Linked DNA regions of Homo sapiens: regions 2 and 3 are each linked to region 1. Evidence: promoter capture Hi-C in 16 types of primary human blood cells and fetal thymus (Javierre and others, 2016). All regions are on one chromosome and are shown on one strand. The core of a region is centred on a gene start or on the middle of the fragment in contact, and the rest is flanking DNA. Distances in the headings are between cores, read along the strand shown. Region 1 holds the start of GIMAP4 (GTPase, IMAP family member 4). Region 2 has its middle 17 kb from the start of GIMAP6. Region 3 has its middle 17 kb from the start of GIMAP7.

What was found. Contacts are between HindIII fragments. The CHiCAGO score rates a contact against its expected background, and 5 or more counts as called.
Region 2: a fragment that was not itself captured here is called in contact with the fragment with the promoter of GIMAP4 in region 1 in 2 of 17 cell types (non-activated CD4 T cells and activated CD4 T cells); the score reaches 8.7 in non-activated CD4 T cells.
Region 3: a fragment that was not itself captured here is called in contact with the fragment with the promoter of GIMAP4 in region 1 in 2 of 17 cell types (non-activated CD4 T cells and activated CD4 T cells); the score reaches 8.2 in non-activated CD4 T cells.

What each region holds. Positions count from the first base shown.
Region 1 is chr7:150,564,808-150,569,215 of GRCh38, reverse strand. GIMAP4 (GTPase, IMAP family member 4) reads right to left here and starts at 1,826. Exons shown (of 3, transcript NM_018326.3): 1 at 1,779-1,826. The HindIII fragment of the contact is 6,433 bases long and covers 456-4,408 here.
Region 2 is chr7:150,612,829-150,617,236 of GRCh38, reverse strand. It overlaps the pseudogene TRPC6P3. Among named protein-coding and RNA genes, the nearest start is that of GIMAP6, 17 kb to the left of the region's middle. The HindIII fragment of the contact is 406 bases long and covers 2,401-2,806 here.
Region 3 is chr7:150,530,055-150,534,462 of GRCh38, reverse strand. No RefSeq gene overlaps it. Among named protein-coding and RNA genes, the nearest start is that of GIMAP7, 17 kb to the right of the region's middle. The HindIII fragment of the contact is 1,006 bases long and covers 1,318-2,323 here.

The DNA.
Region 1 (4,408 bases), core at 577-3,076:
CTTCAATCCCTTTTCTACTCTACAATCAGATGTTCTTTTAAAACTAAAATTTGATATTTTTTCTTGTTTAAATTTCCTAGTGGCTTACTATTGGTTTCAAAATAACTGAAGTCCTCAGAATGGCCCATAGGCCCTGTGTGATCAGCTCTCTCCTCTCTCCTATGTGTGAGCCACACTACCCTCAATGTTCTGGAAATCTAGGCTCCTTCCACCTTCAAGGCCTTTGCAGTTATCATTCCTTCTCTTTGGAGCACTCACCCTCCAACCTAGTGCCCAGCTTGTTCCTGCTCAACCCGCAGGCCTCGGCTCTCCAGAGAGTCTTCCCCAACACCACTGTCTACCAGCAACACCCTCTGTTATGATCCACTGCACCCCAGAGGCTTCTTACAGAATATGTATTACTTTAGGAAGTTAATTGCTTGATTTTTTTACTGTCTCCTCTTATACTACAAGCTTTGTGATGAGAAGACCACATATGTCTTGTATTTCTCATTATTCCCTGGGGACAAGCACAATACTGGGCAAAGAATGGTTATCGATCATTGTTAAATAAATAAATGGATAATCTCCCTGCTTCTTGCCTTTGATTGATCATTATGTCCAGCCCACATCTGATCTGTGAAAATGACAATCCATTCCTTTATTAATTAATATGTAGTGTTATAGAAACATGGTATTAATTTTAAATGTTTTATTTCATTGCTACCTACAAACATTTTGCAATGGAGAAAGATATTTGAAGAACTCTTATTGGAGCAGACTTTGAACAAAACAGGCAGAAAATGGTAGTTGTTAAAGACAGAGTCACCTCATAGGAAGCCAACAAATATGAAACACTGTGAAAAGCCAGATATTTCTTTTGAATGACTATTTCTTTATCCTTCAAGAATAGGGTATAGGAAACAGCTTCTTGTAAACAAGAGAAATCATGGCATTTTTTAAAAATCAGCTTTGGTGGCTGGTGTTAGGAGAGAGGATAGGACACCAGCAAGAAGAAAACAATACTGTGACATTCTGGGTTTTTGTGACATTCTCTGGGTGTTTCTTCATATCCTCCTTCTAGTGTGTGGGCTCTTTAATGCTGCTCTGCTGTTAATAATTCAGAGGCAAAGCCAGGAGACTGTGCTTCTGTAGGTGCTGACTTCAGGTGGCTGAATTCTCCTCTCTCTGCCTAAGGAACAAGCACCCATCAGCATCCAGCTTCTCCTGAACTGTAGAGAGTCACACCAGGTGGCATCTCCCTCCTCCTACCCGCTAAAGGGGAGCTCAATGCCCAGTAAACCCAGGACTGTCCCTGAGGAGACAGTTTCCCTAACGGGCAGCTCCGAGCAGACAGTTAACCCTGTAACAAGACCTCAGACTGCAGAGCCTCCAATCCTGACCTGGGTGCAGTCTTTGTGGGGCCACATATGGAGCTGTGCCCCTTACACATCCCAATGTTCCTCTTCCCACCAGCTCCCCCAGAGCTAATTCTGTCCGCTCACCCAACTTTATCCCTGGAAGAATCAAAGTTTCTATATAAATTCCACAACCAGCGAGAGGAAACATTTATTTGTAAAACAAGTATCCTCTGAGCAGCAATCTCTGGAAGAGGCATTGATTTGTAGGGCTCAGCCTTGAAAACAGATCACAGCCTAAAATTAGCAAAGCCAGGAAACGGGAACCAGCGAGAATATAGTCTGAAAACATGTTTACCAGACGATTTAAGATACAGGTCCCTCCTCACCAAAATCGCACATTCGTCCCGACCCCCACCACACACACCCCTATTCCCTTACCTGAAAAATCAGGATCTTGCACCCCTCTCTGATTTTGCACACAATACTAAGCCAGGATGTTGAGAAACAGGAGAAGAGAGGAAGTGAGGGGAGGAGCTGTCCAGATTTACTTGTGCAAGGGACCTGCCCACCTGATCATCCAGCAGCTCTAATAGAACTTTCTGCAGGGATGGGGTTGTTCTGTGCTGTCCAAGATGGTGACCCTTAGCCACACGTGACTACTGAGCGCTTGAAATGTGACGAGTGTGATTGCAGTTCTGAATTTTAAATTTTATTTTGTTTCAATTTATTTAAAGTTAAATAGCTACTCCATTGTCAGAATTCTAAAAGGCAAAGTCAGGCAGAACAACTTGCACCAGGCATTTTCCCCAGAAGGAAAGAAGGAATATTCAGCTTGGTATGCCTGGTGGCTACCATACTGAACCTTGCAAAGGCTCTGCAGTGAGACAAAAAACATGGGTCATGCTGTGACATTCTGGAAGAAACTTCTGGGCCAAAACTAGAGAGTTATCAGTTATTCTGAAAGACCCTTGAGCCCCTGAACCCCTGCTCAGCACAACAGGCCTCCCAGCTAAGCCCCCATACCCCTTTCTCCCAGTACCTCAGGTATGTCCTCTGAGTCCACAGTGTGTCCTTATTTCCAGGGTATGTCCATGAGTCATCTGCTAGAAGCAAAAGAGAGTAAATGACTTTCACTGGACTGACTAGGATGGGCCCAAAATTCACCTCCTGAGATGGTCCTGGAACCACTGAAATATTCTAAACACTGACATCTGACACTACTTACCACTAAAATGGAAACTTTGAGAGTATTGTAATGGGGTCCCAGCTCACCGTTATAACCAGTTATTTTTCCATTGTAAAAGGGGTCTCAATTTACCATTATACCCCACAGCTGAGACCTTATTTAGAATTACATAGCACTTTAGTAATTATAAAATTGCTAATAATTCTAAAGAGAACTGTAAGAGAAAGACATACATTTCTTTGAGGATAGAATGTGATTGGCCCTGGGTATACAAGCACAGGATGGCTACACTAAAAAGCAGAACAAGGCAATGGAATACATCTTGCACCAACAGTAAGGATAATTTACATTCCAGAGCAACATGACTTAAATAACAAAGACCACTTGGTCCCTTGGTTTGACAGGCAAACGAAGGCAAGTCCAAAAGAACAGGCAGCATGAGAAAGCATCTCCGCGATTCTGAACTGAGATACCTTAAAAGACTAGGATTATATTTTGTTTCTGAAGCCTAAACCTGGCTAGAAGGTATATATTATTCTATTTAATTACAGAAATTGATGCAAAATATAGTATTTATTTTTAGTACTATTAAAGCACTGGATCATTACTTAGGGAATCTTTATTCAGGTTACAGGGATCACTGCAGTAGGAAAGTTCTCTGTTAGGGACTACATTTGCAGTGAGCACCACGTTTCATCTAATGCTTTAACAATAAAGCAATGTGTAGACAAAAATGTCTACATTAAAGATCCAGAAATGAAAACAATAATTTGTGATACCACATTAAAAATTTAGAAAAGGAACAGCAAATTGAACCTAAAGTAAGGAGGATGAAGGAAATACTAAAGGGAAGAAATCTTGAAACAGAAAAAAAAAATAGAGAAAACCAATAAAATCAAACATGAATTCTTTGGAAATAATTAATAAAATTGATAAGCCTCTATCTACATAAATCAAGAAAAGGGGCAAAACATACAGTATACAAGTTATTAATATCAGGAATGGGAACGAGATCATGCAGGCATTAAAGGGGTTGGGCCTGATCACCTCAACATCTAGCTCCAGTTAAAAAAGGGGGAGAATCAGGAGGTTATGTATGCTAACCTCCAAAAACATATGAAAGAGACAGTTCAACCTACTGCACCCTCAGGGGAAGCTCCGGAATGGCCACCCCCACCTAAGCCTTGTGAACTGCAGGCATGGGAGCCTGAGATGCCGTTTGCGGCACCTGTTATTGCACAACCTGCCGTTAACTATGGTAAAAATCAGACTCAGCCACCAGTTAATTACGGTTAAAAATTCAGACTTGTCCACCTGTTAATTATTCCAAAGAGATGCTTCAGGCTCCTCCCAACGTTAAATATGGGACAATTCAGGCTTCCATTCATCAGGCACGAGAAAGTGGGGACTTGGATGCTTGGCAGTTTCTGGTGACTGTCATACCAGAGGAGCAGCCTGGACATGCTCAGTCACACTGGGAGCCATTCCCTTTTAAAATATTGAAAGACTTAAGGCAAGCAATTGGACAATGTGGGCCAAATTCTCCTTATGTTCATTCCCTATTACAATCTGTGGCTTACAACCAGCACTAATGATTGAGGAAAAAATACAACAAGCTCCATTCACCTACAGGGGTTATTGCTCAGAGTGAGGACTTGGTTGAATGGTCTTTTTATAGTTCCAATGAACAAAAACCAGATTCGACAGGTTTTTATTAACTCCTTTAATTGGCAAGTAAATTTATTGGCAAGTTAATTGGCAAGCTGAATTCATAGGAAACCTTAACAATCATTATCCAAAAAATAGGATTTTTCAGTTTTTAAAATTAACTACATGAGTTCTGCCAAAAATTACCCATAATGCTCCCTTAGAAGGAGCAGTG
Region 2 (4,408 bases), core at 1,354-3,853, 47 kb before region 1:
GCCTAATAGACATCTAAAGGACTCTCCACCCCAAATCTATAGAATATACATTCTTCTCAGCACCACATAGCACTTATTCTAAAATCGACCACATAGTTGGAAGTAAAACACTCCTCAGCAAATGCAAGAGAACAGAAATCATAACAAACAATCTTTCAGACCACAGTGCAATCAAAATAGAACTCAGGATTAAGAAACTCACTCAAAACTGCACAACAACATGGAAACCGAACAACCTGCTCCTGAATGACTACTGGGTAAATAACAAAATTAAGGTAGAAGTAAAGAAGTTCTTTGAATCCAATAAGAACAAAGAGACAATGTACCAGAATCTCTGGGACACAGCTAAAGCAGTGTTGAGGGAAATTTATAGCACAATGAATATTATTAAAACATAGATGACGGGTTGATAGGTGCACCATGGCACATGTATACCTATGTAACAAACCTGCACGTTCTGCACATGTATCCCAGAACTTAAACTATAATAAAAAACAAAATAAAATAAATTGAAAAAAGAAAATATCTTTTATAAATTTAATATAGTCTACATGTACAGTGTTTATAAAGTCTACAGTAGGGTACACTAATGTCCTAGGCCCTCACATTCACTCACCTGTCACTCACTGACTCATCCAGAGGAACTTTCAGTCCTTCAAGCTCCATTTATGGTAAGTGCCCTATACAGGTATACAATTTTTTATCTTTTATACCATATTTTATACTGTGCATTTTCTGTGTTTATGTGTGTTTAGATATACAAATACTTACCACTGTGTTACAATTGTCTGCAGTATTCAGTACAGCAACATTCTGTACAGATTTGTGGCCTAGGAGCAATAGGCTATACCCAACAGTAGGCTATGTAGCCTCGGTGTGTAGTAGGCAGTACCATGTACATTTGTGTATGTATGCTTTATGATTTCACACAACAATGAAACCACTTAATAATGCATTTCTCAGAAGGTATCCCTGTTAAGGGATACATGACTGTATTTTCACTGTCAGAGGAAAACTGCCTACTCAAGCCTCAGTAATGGCGGACGCCCCTCCCCCCAGCAAGTTCCATCATCCCAGGTCAACTTCAGATTGCTGGGCTGGCAGTGAGAATTTCAAGCCAGTGGCTTTTAGCCTGCTGTTCTCCAAGGGATTGGGACCTGCTGAGCGAGACCACTTGGCTCCCTGGCTTCAGCCCTCTCTAAAGGGGAGTGAACCATTCTGTCTCACTGGGGTTCCAGGTGCCACTGGGGTGTGAAAAAACACTCCTGCAGCTAGCTCTGTGTCTGCCCAAATAGTCACCCAGTTTTGTGCTGGAAACCCAGGGCCCTGGTGGTGTAGGCACACGAGGGAATCTCCTGGTCTGTGGATTGCAAAAACCATGGGAAATGTGTAGTTCTATCTGGGCCAAATAGCACAGTCCCTCACAACTTCCCTTGGCTGTGGGAGGGAGGCCCCTGGCTGCTTGGACGTCCTAGGTGAGGTGACGCTCACCCTCCATGGTGTTGGGAAAAGCTGAGTGTTGGGAGAAGCTGAGGCAGGGCTTACATGTCTGACACAATGTAAAAGAGTCTTGGAACCTGTCCAGGGTCCGGGGTCTAAAACCTCTCTTGGCCTTTGGAACACCAAGCTCTGTGCTAAAGGGTGGAAGCCTACCCTGATGCACCATAATGTAAGCGCAGGACATAAAACCCCTCATGGCCTCTGGAATGTGTCTAGACTTGCTGGCTCCTTGCTCCTTGCTCTGCCAGGATCGATTGTATCTTGAGTTAAAAGAACCTTCTCTCCATTATCTCAAGTAGCAGAGCATATGCTAAACTGTCATAGCTGTAAATCATGTGCTTAATGCAATGTTCCCTTTCAACCCCACATTCTCACCACCTGTTTCTTTGTTTGATCACCAATAAATAGTCTGGGCTTCCAGAGCTCAGGGCCTTCACAGCCTCCATTACTCACATTGGCGCCCTGGGCCCACTTTCTCTCTCAAACTGTCTTTACTCATTCCTTTGACTCCACCAGATTTTGTCACCCCCACCACCTGGTGTTGGGTCCAATCACCCCAACATTCCTGGCTGCCCAACTTGGGGTGACAAATACCCCAGTGAAGGAATGCTAGAGCATGTGAAAGTGGAGGATGCATCGTCAAAGGACACCTGAGGACCACTGAAAGAAGCTCGTCAGGAAAGCTGAGCACTTGGAAGAAACAGGGTAACAATGGGACAAAGTGAAAGCAAACATTCTGCTTACTTGAATTTCTTAAGGCACTTATTATGAAGAGGGTGAGACATGGGGTAAGACCCAGTGGAATCTGAGGCTTGTTTATTCAGAAGGCCCCATTTAGAGAAAAAGAAGACAAAGTGAGGACTTAGAAGGAGCCTGGGAAAGTAAAGTCATCTTGAAGCTTCAGTTTCACAGTTAACCTGCTTCTGCTGGAGAAAAACAGATTTAATGAGCACAGAGGCATGATATGGGACTGAATGTAAAGAAATTTGGACTCAAGGCCCCAAGGAATATTTGTTTGAGTTGTGGAATATGCTTGATTTTGGTATGTTAGTGATTTTCACAGCATTGTTCATTGCAAGATTCAGGGCGTTCTGGCATGCTTCCAAAGCCCAAAGCATCATTGATGCAAATGATACTTTGAAGGACTTGACAGAAGTAACACTGGGAGATAATGTGAAATACTACAATTTGGCCAGGAGGGAGTGGGTCCCCTCTGATCCTTGGGTGGTGTCTGAAGGTCTTTGTGCAGTTGCTGTGGTTTTGAGTTTCTCTGGGATAGCTTGTATTTTGCCAGCAAATGAAAGCTTTGGACCTCTGCAGACGTCACTTGGAGGAGCAGTCAAAGACATCTTCAGGTTCATGGTCATATTCATTATGGTGTTTGTGGCCTTTATGATTGGAATGTTCAACCTCTACTCCTACTACATTGGTGCAAAACAAAATGAAGCCTTCACAACGTTGAAGAGAGTTTTAAGACAATGTTCTGGGCTATATTTGGACTTTCTGAAGTGAAATCAGTGATCATCAACTATAACCACAAATTCATTGAAAACATTGGTTATGTTCTTTATGGAGTCTGTAATGTTACAATGGTCATTGTTTTGCTAAATATGTTAATTGCCATGATCAACAATTCGTTCCAGGAAATTGAGGATGATGCTGATGTGGGTCATAAAAAAGGTTTCCAGGAAGATGTAGAGATAAGTAAGTAGAGATAGACATAAATAGAGATATACATAAATAGAGATAGAGATAAATAGAGACAGAGATAGACATAACTAGAGATAGAGATAGAGGTAAATAGAGATAGAGATAAGTAAGTAGAGATAGAGATAAGTAGAGATAGGTAGGAAAATACAGGGACTTGCAGGAACTCACAGGAAATAACAGGTACCATAGGGACAGACAGGGACAGATACGGATAGATGAAGACCAGCAATATAAGGTCAGTACCCTAAAGAGGTATTGGTCAGTGCCCTAAAGAGGTACTGGTCAGTGAGGTACAAAAGCAAAGACTAGCAATATAAGGTTAGTGCCTTAAAGAGGTACTGGTCAGTGCCCTAAAGAGGTACAAAGGTAGAGACTAGCAAAGACAAGCAGAGATTTGCAGGGACAGACAAGAACATTCTGAATTATGGAAATTAGCTATGGCTCAAAGTCCAATCAAAATCTGAGAGGGCAAATATAAAAGGAATAGAGGGGAAGGAGGTAAGGATGAAAATGCTCTTTCTTTTCTCTCCAGCAGGACCTTTTGGATTCAAAGTCGTGCTAGCAATAGGAAATGTTACTCTTGATATAATACACACTTTATTACATGCCCTGATTGTTGCTTGTTTACCTGCATTAATTCAACCTTTGATGAAAATATAACTATCTTGATAATTAAAGCCAGGGAAGGAGTTTGATCCCTCTGTCTCTAAATAGACTATGGGAAACATCACCAAGTATTTATATTGTAACTGAGATCCTTAAAAAACTCTTATCCCGTTCCAAAAGATTTATAGTTGAAGGCCATTGGAGGCTCTACATTGTGGGTTTCTTTCTGGTTGTTGTGTGCTTGTGCTGTCTCCTTTTAGTCTGCAGATGCAGAAGCTGCCTCTGAAGAGGAAACCGCCTCTGAAGAGAAAGCTGCCATCAAGAACAAGCAATGATAGCTGTGGTGGTTTTATGAAAAAGAAAAGGGGGGTATGTTGGGAAAAGCTGAGTGTTGGGAAAAACTGAGGCAGGGCTTGCATGTCTGACATAATGTAAAAAAGTCTTGGAACCTGTCCAGGGTCCGGGGTCTGAAACCTCTCTTGGCCTTTGGAACACCAAGCTCTGTGCTAAAGGGTGGAAGGCTACCCTGATGCACCATAATCTAAGCCCAGGGGATAAAACCCCTCATGGCTTGGATAGAATCCAGGGCTCA
Region 3 (4,408 bases), core at 571-3,070, 35 kb after region 1:
CACAGGCAGAAGGGACCCACCCAGAACAGCACAGCTGCTCTAACAAAATGTGGCTAAACTGCTTCTTTAAGTGGGTGCCCAATCCCATTCCTCTTCCCTGAGTAGGATCTCCCAACCAGGGCCTCTAGCCACCCCCATTAGTGTTCTCCAGCCAACAGAGATTTTAATTCTCTGGGATGAAGCTCTCAGCATGAAGGGTGGACCACCATCCTTGCTGTCTGGGCAACTTAGCTATTCCAGCGTTCAGGCTTTGAAGTGTCCAAGGCAACCAGGAGCTGAAGTGGATCCCCAGCACAGCTTAGCTGCTCTATGAAATCATGGCCAGACTGCTTTTTAAAGTGGGTCCCCAATCACATTTCTCCTTACTGGGTGGGACCTTTCTATCGGGGTCTCCAGCCACCTCCTACAGGTGTGTTCAGGCTAGCAACAGGCTTGAACAAGCTAGCAACAGGCTAGCAACAGGATGAAGCTCCCAGAGGGAAGGGCAGTTTGCCATCTTTGCTATTTGACAGGCTTCTCTGGTGTTACCTCCAGGTAAAATCCGAGGTAACTAGGGACTGGAGTGGGCCCCTAGCATACCGCAGAAGCCCTATGGAAAATTGGCCAGACTGTTATGTGGGTGGCCATTCCCATATCTCCTTACCAGACAGGTCCTCCAGGCTTGGCCTCCAGACACCCACCACCAGAGCTATCAAGCCAATAGCAACTCAGCAACTCCCTGGACAGAGCCTTCCAGGGCAACTGAAAATCTCTCTGCCACTGCCTCTGCAGTGGAACTGCCTTTGCCACCCGTGGACTAACATAGGAGCAAAGACCCTAAGTGCCTTATACACACCTCCAACAAGCTACATTTCATCCAAGAAGAGGAAGCCAGTCCAATTTCCATGGGTCCCCCACACCCCCATTGCTCATCACCAGACAGGGAATCCCTGGCTTGGGCCCTCCAGCACAGACCCTCCATCTTGGGCTAATTGCACTGAGCAACTGCTGACCTGCATCTTTCTGGGGTGGGGCCCCTGGGAGACAAGCAAAAGACCATTGTCCACAACCACTACTAAAGTTCTTCCTTTACTGACTCCAATTTGAGGAAGGAATGTAAACACTGAGATCACCCCAGAGCTGCAGTGGGCAGCCCAGGAGCACCAAACCATGATCTACAGCCAGCAGTCAAGAGAGAGAGAAACCAACACTTTCAGAGCATTGAGAGGGAACATGGCTGCAACTATGAGGAAACATAGGGGAGCCACACAACCAAGCAAGAGTCTACGAACTGACCAACAAACATAAGTGCCACCTGCTGGATCACACCCCAAAGCTTCAACACCAAAAATACCTCACTAACATACCCTCCTCTGAAACCAGAGACAAGAAGTCAGCTTCAAATAGAGACCCTGCACAAAGACTTGGCCCTGTGAAAACATCCATAAAAAGAAGTTTATTGATTGTATTCAATCTACACTGCAGTTAAAGGAACACCGACATGCAGAGATGAGAAAGAACCAACGCAAGAACTCCAGTAACTCAAGTGGCCAGATTGTCATATGTCCTCCAAATGGCACACCAGTTCTCCAACAAGGGTTCTTAACCAGGCTGAAATGGCTGGAATGACAGAAATAGAAGACAAAATATGGATAGAAACAAAAATCTTTGAGATTCAGAAGGATGGCAAAACCCAATCCAAGGAAAATAAGAATCACAATAAAGCAATACAGGAGCTGAAGGACAAAATAACCAGTATAAAAAAGAACCTAATGCATCTGACAGAGCTGAATAACATAATACAATAATATCATAAATATTAAAAGCAGAAGAAATCAAGCTGAGGAAAGAATCTCAGAACTTGAATACTGGTTCTCTGAAATAAGACAAAAAATAAAGAAAAAAGGCTAAAAATGAATGAATAAAGTGTCTGAGAATTATGAGATTATGTAAAGAGGGCAAATCCGATTGGCATTGCTTGAAAGGGAAGGGGAGAAAGCAAACAACTTGGAAAATATATTTCAGGATACTGTTTATGAAAACTTCCCCAACCTTGCTAGAGAGTCCAACAGTCAAATTCAGGAAATACAGAGAACTCCTGCAAGAATCTACATAAGAGGATCATCCCCAATACACATAACTGTCAGATTTTCCAAGGTTGAAATGAAAGAATGTTAAAGGCAGCTAGAGAGAAAGGGAAGCCACCTACAAAGGGAAACCCTTCAGGCTAACAGTGGGTCTCTCAGCTGAAACCCTCCAAGCCAGAAGAGATTTGGTGCCAATATTCAACACCCTTAAAGACAAAATCTTCAACCAAGAATTGCATATCCAGCCAAACTAAGCTTCCTAAGTGAAGGAGAAATAAGATCCTTTTCAGATAAGCAAATGTTGAGGGATCTCATTACCACCATTCCTGCCTTACAAGAGATCTTGAGATGAGCACTAAATATAGAAAAGAAAGACTGCTACCAGGTAATACAAAAACACACTTAAACACACAGACCACTATAAAGCAACCATAAAAACAAGCGAACATAATAACCAGCTAACAGCACAATGACAGGATTAAATACACATATATCAATACTAACCTTAATGTAAATGGACTAAATGCCCCCACTTAAAAGGCATAGAGTGACAAGCTGGATAAAGAAGCAAGACCCAATGATATGCTGATTCAAGAGACCCATCTCACATGTAATGACACTCATAGGCTCAAAATAAAGGGATAGAGGGAAATCTACCAAGCAAATTGAAAAGAGAAAAAAGCAGGAGCTGCAATCCTATTTTCAGGCAAAACAGATTTCTTTTTTTTTAGTGAGAAGAAAATGTTATTGACCTCAATTTAGAAGAAAAGAAGATGAAAAATAAGGAAAAAATATGGAATCTTTTATACCTGAGTTTTTATTAAGTAATGTTAAGCCTGGTCTACCTAAGAAAAAATATTTTGTAGAATTGCATATGTAAATAATCTCATTTAAATTATAATAACTAAATTTTTATTTGAGTCCAGGTTTGTTTTTTTTATTTTGCCTCTCTAGCATCAATTAGTTTAGCAAGGTACAAACTAACCAAATATGTATTTTTTTTTTTTTTTGCTTTAAGACAAAACAGATTTCAAACCAACAAAGATCAAAAAACACAAAGAAGGGAATTACATAAAGGTAAAGGGTTCAATTCAATAAGAATACCTAACTATCTGAAATATATATGCACCCAGCACAGGAGGACCCAGATTCATAAAGAAAATTCTTAGAGACCTACAAAGAGATATAGACTCTCACACAATAATAGTAGGAGAATTCAACACTCCACTAACAGTATTAGACAGATCATCAAGGCAGAAAATTAACAAAGATATTCAGGACCTCAACTCAACATTGGACCAAATGGATCTAATAGACATTTACAGAAGTCTCCACCCAAAGACGACAGAATATATATACACTCTTCTCATCACCACATGGCGCATACTCTAAAATGAACCACGTAATTGGACATAAAACAATCAACAAATGCAAAGGAGCTTAAATCATACCAAACACACTCATGGACCACAGCACAATAGGAATAGATGTCAAGACCAAGAAAATTGCTTAAATCCATGCAGTTAAACAACATGCTCTTGGATGACTTTTGGGTAAATAATGAAATTAAGGCAGAAATCAACAAGTTTTTTGAAAATAATGGGAACAAAGATACAAAATACCAGAATCTCTGGGGCACAGCTAAGGCAATGTTAAGGGGGAAATTTATAGCACTAAATGCCCACATTAAAAAGTTAGATCTCAGCTGGGCACTGTGCCTCATGCCTGTAATTTCAGCACTTTGGGAGGCCAAGATGGGCAGATTACAAGGTCAGGAGATCAAGACCATCCTGGCTAACACGGTGAAACACTGTCTCTACTAAAAATACAAAAATTAGCCAGGCATGGTGGCACACACCTGTAGTCCCAGCTGCTCAGAAAGTTTAGGCAGGAGAATCACTAGAACCCAGGAGCCGGAGGTTGCAGTGAGCCAATATCATGCTGCTGCACTCCAGCCTAGGTGACGGAGTGAGACTCTGTCTCAAAAAAAAAAAAGTTAGATCTCAAATTAAAAACCTAACATCACAACTGAAAGAACTAGAGAAGCAAGAAGAAATCAACCCCAAAGCTAGCAGAATACAATAAATAACCAAAATCAGAGCTGAAGTGAAAGAAATCGAGACACACACACACACACACACACACACACACACACACAAAATTCAAAAGACAAACAGATCTAGGAGTTGGCTTTTTGAAAAAAGTAATAAGATAGACAAGCCTCTAGTTACACTAATAAGGAAAAAAATGGAGAAGACCCAAATAAACACAATCAGAAATGATGAAGGGAATGTTACTACTGATTCCACAGAAATTCAAACAACCATCAGAGACTACGATAA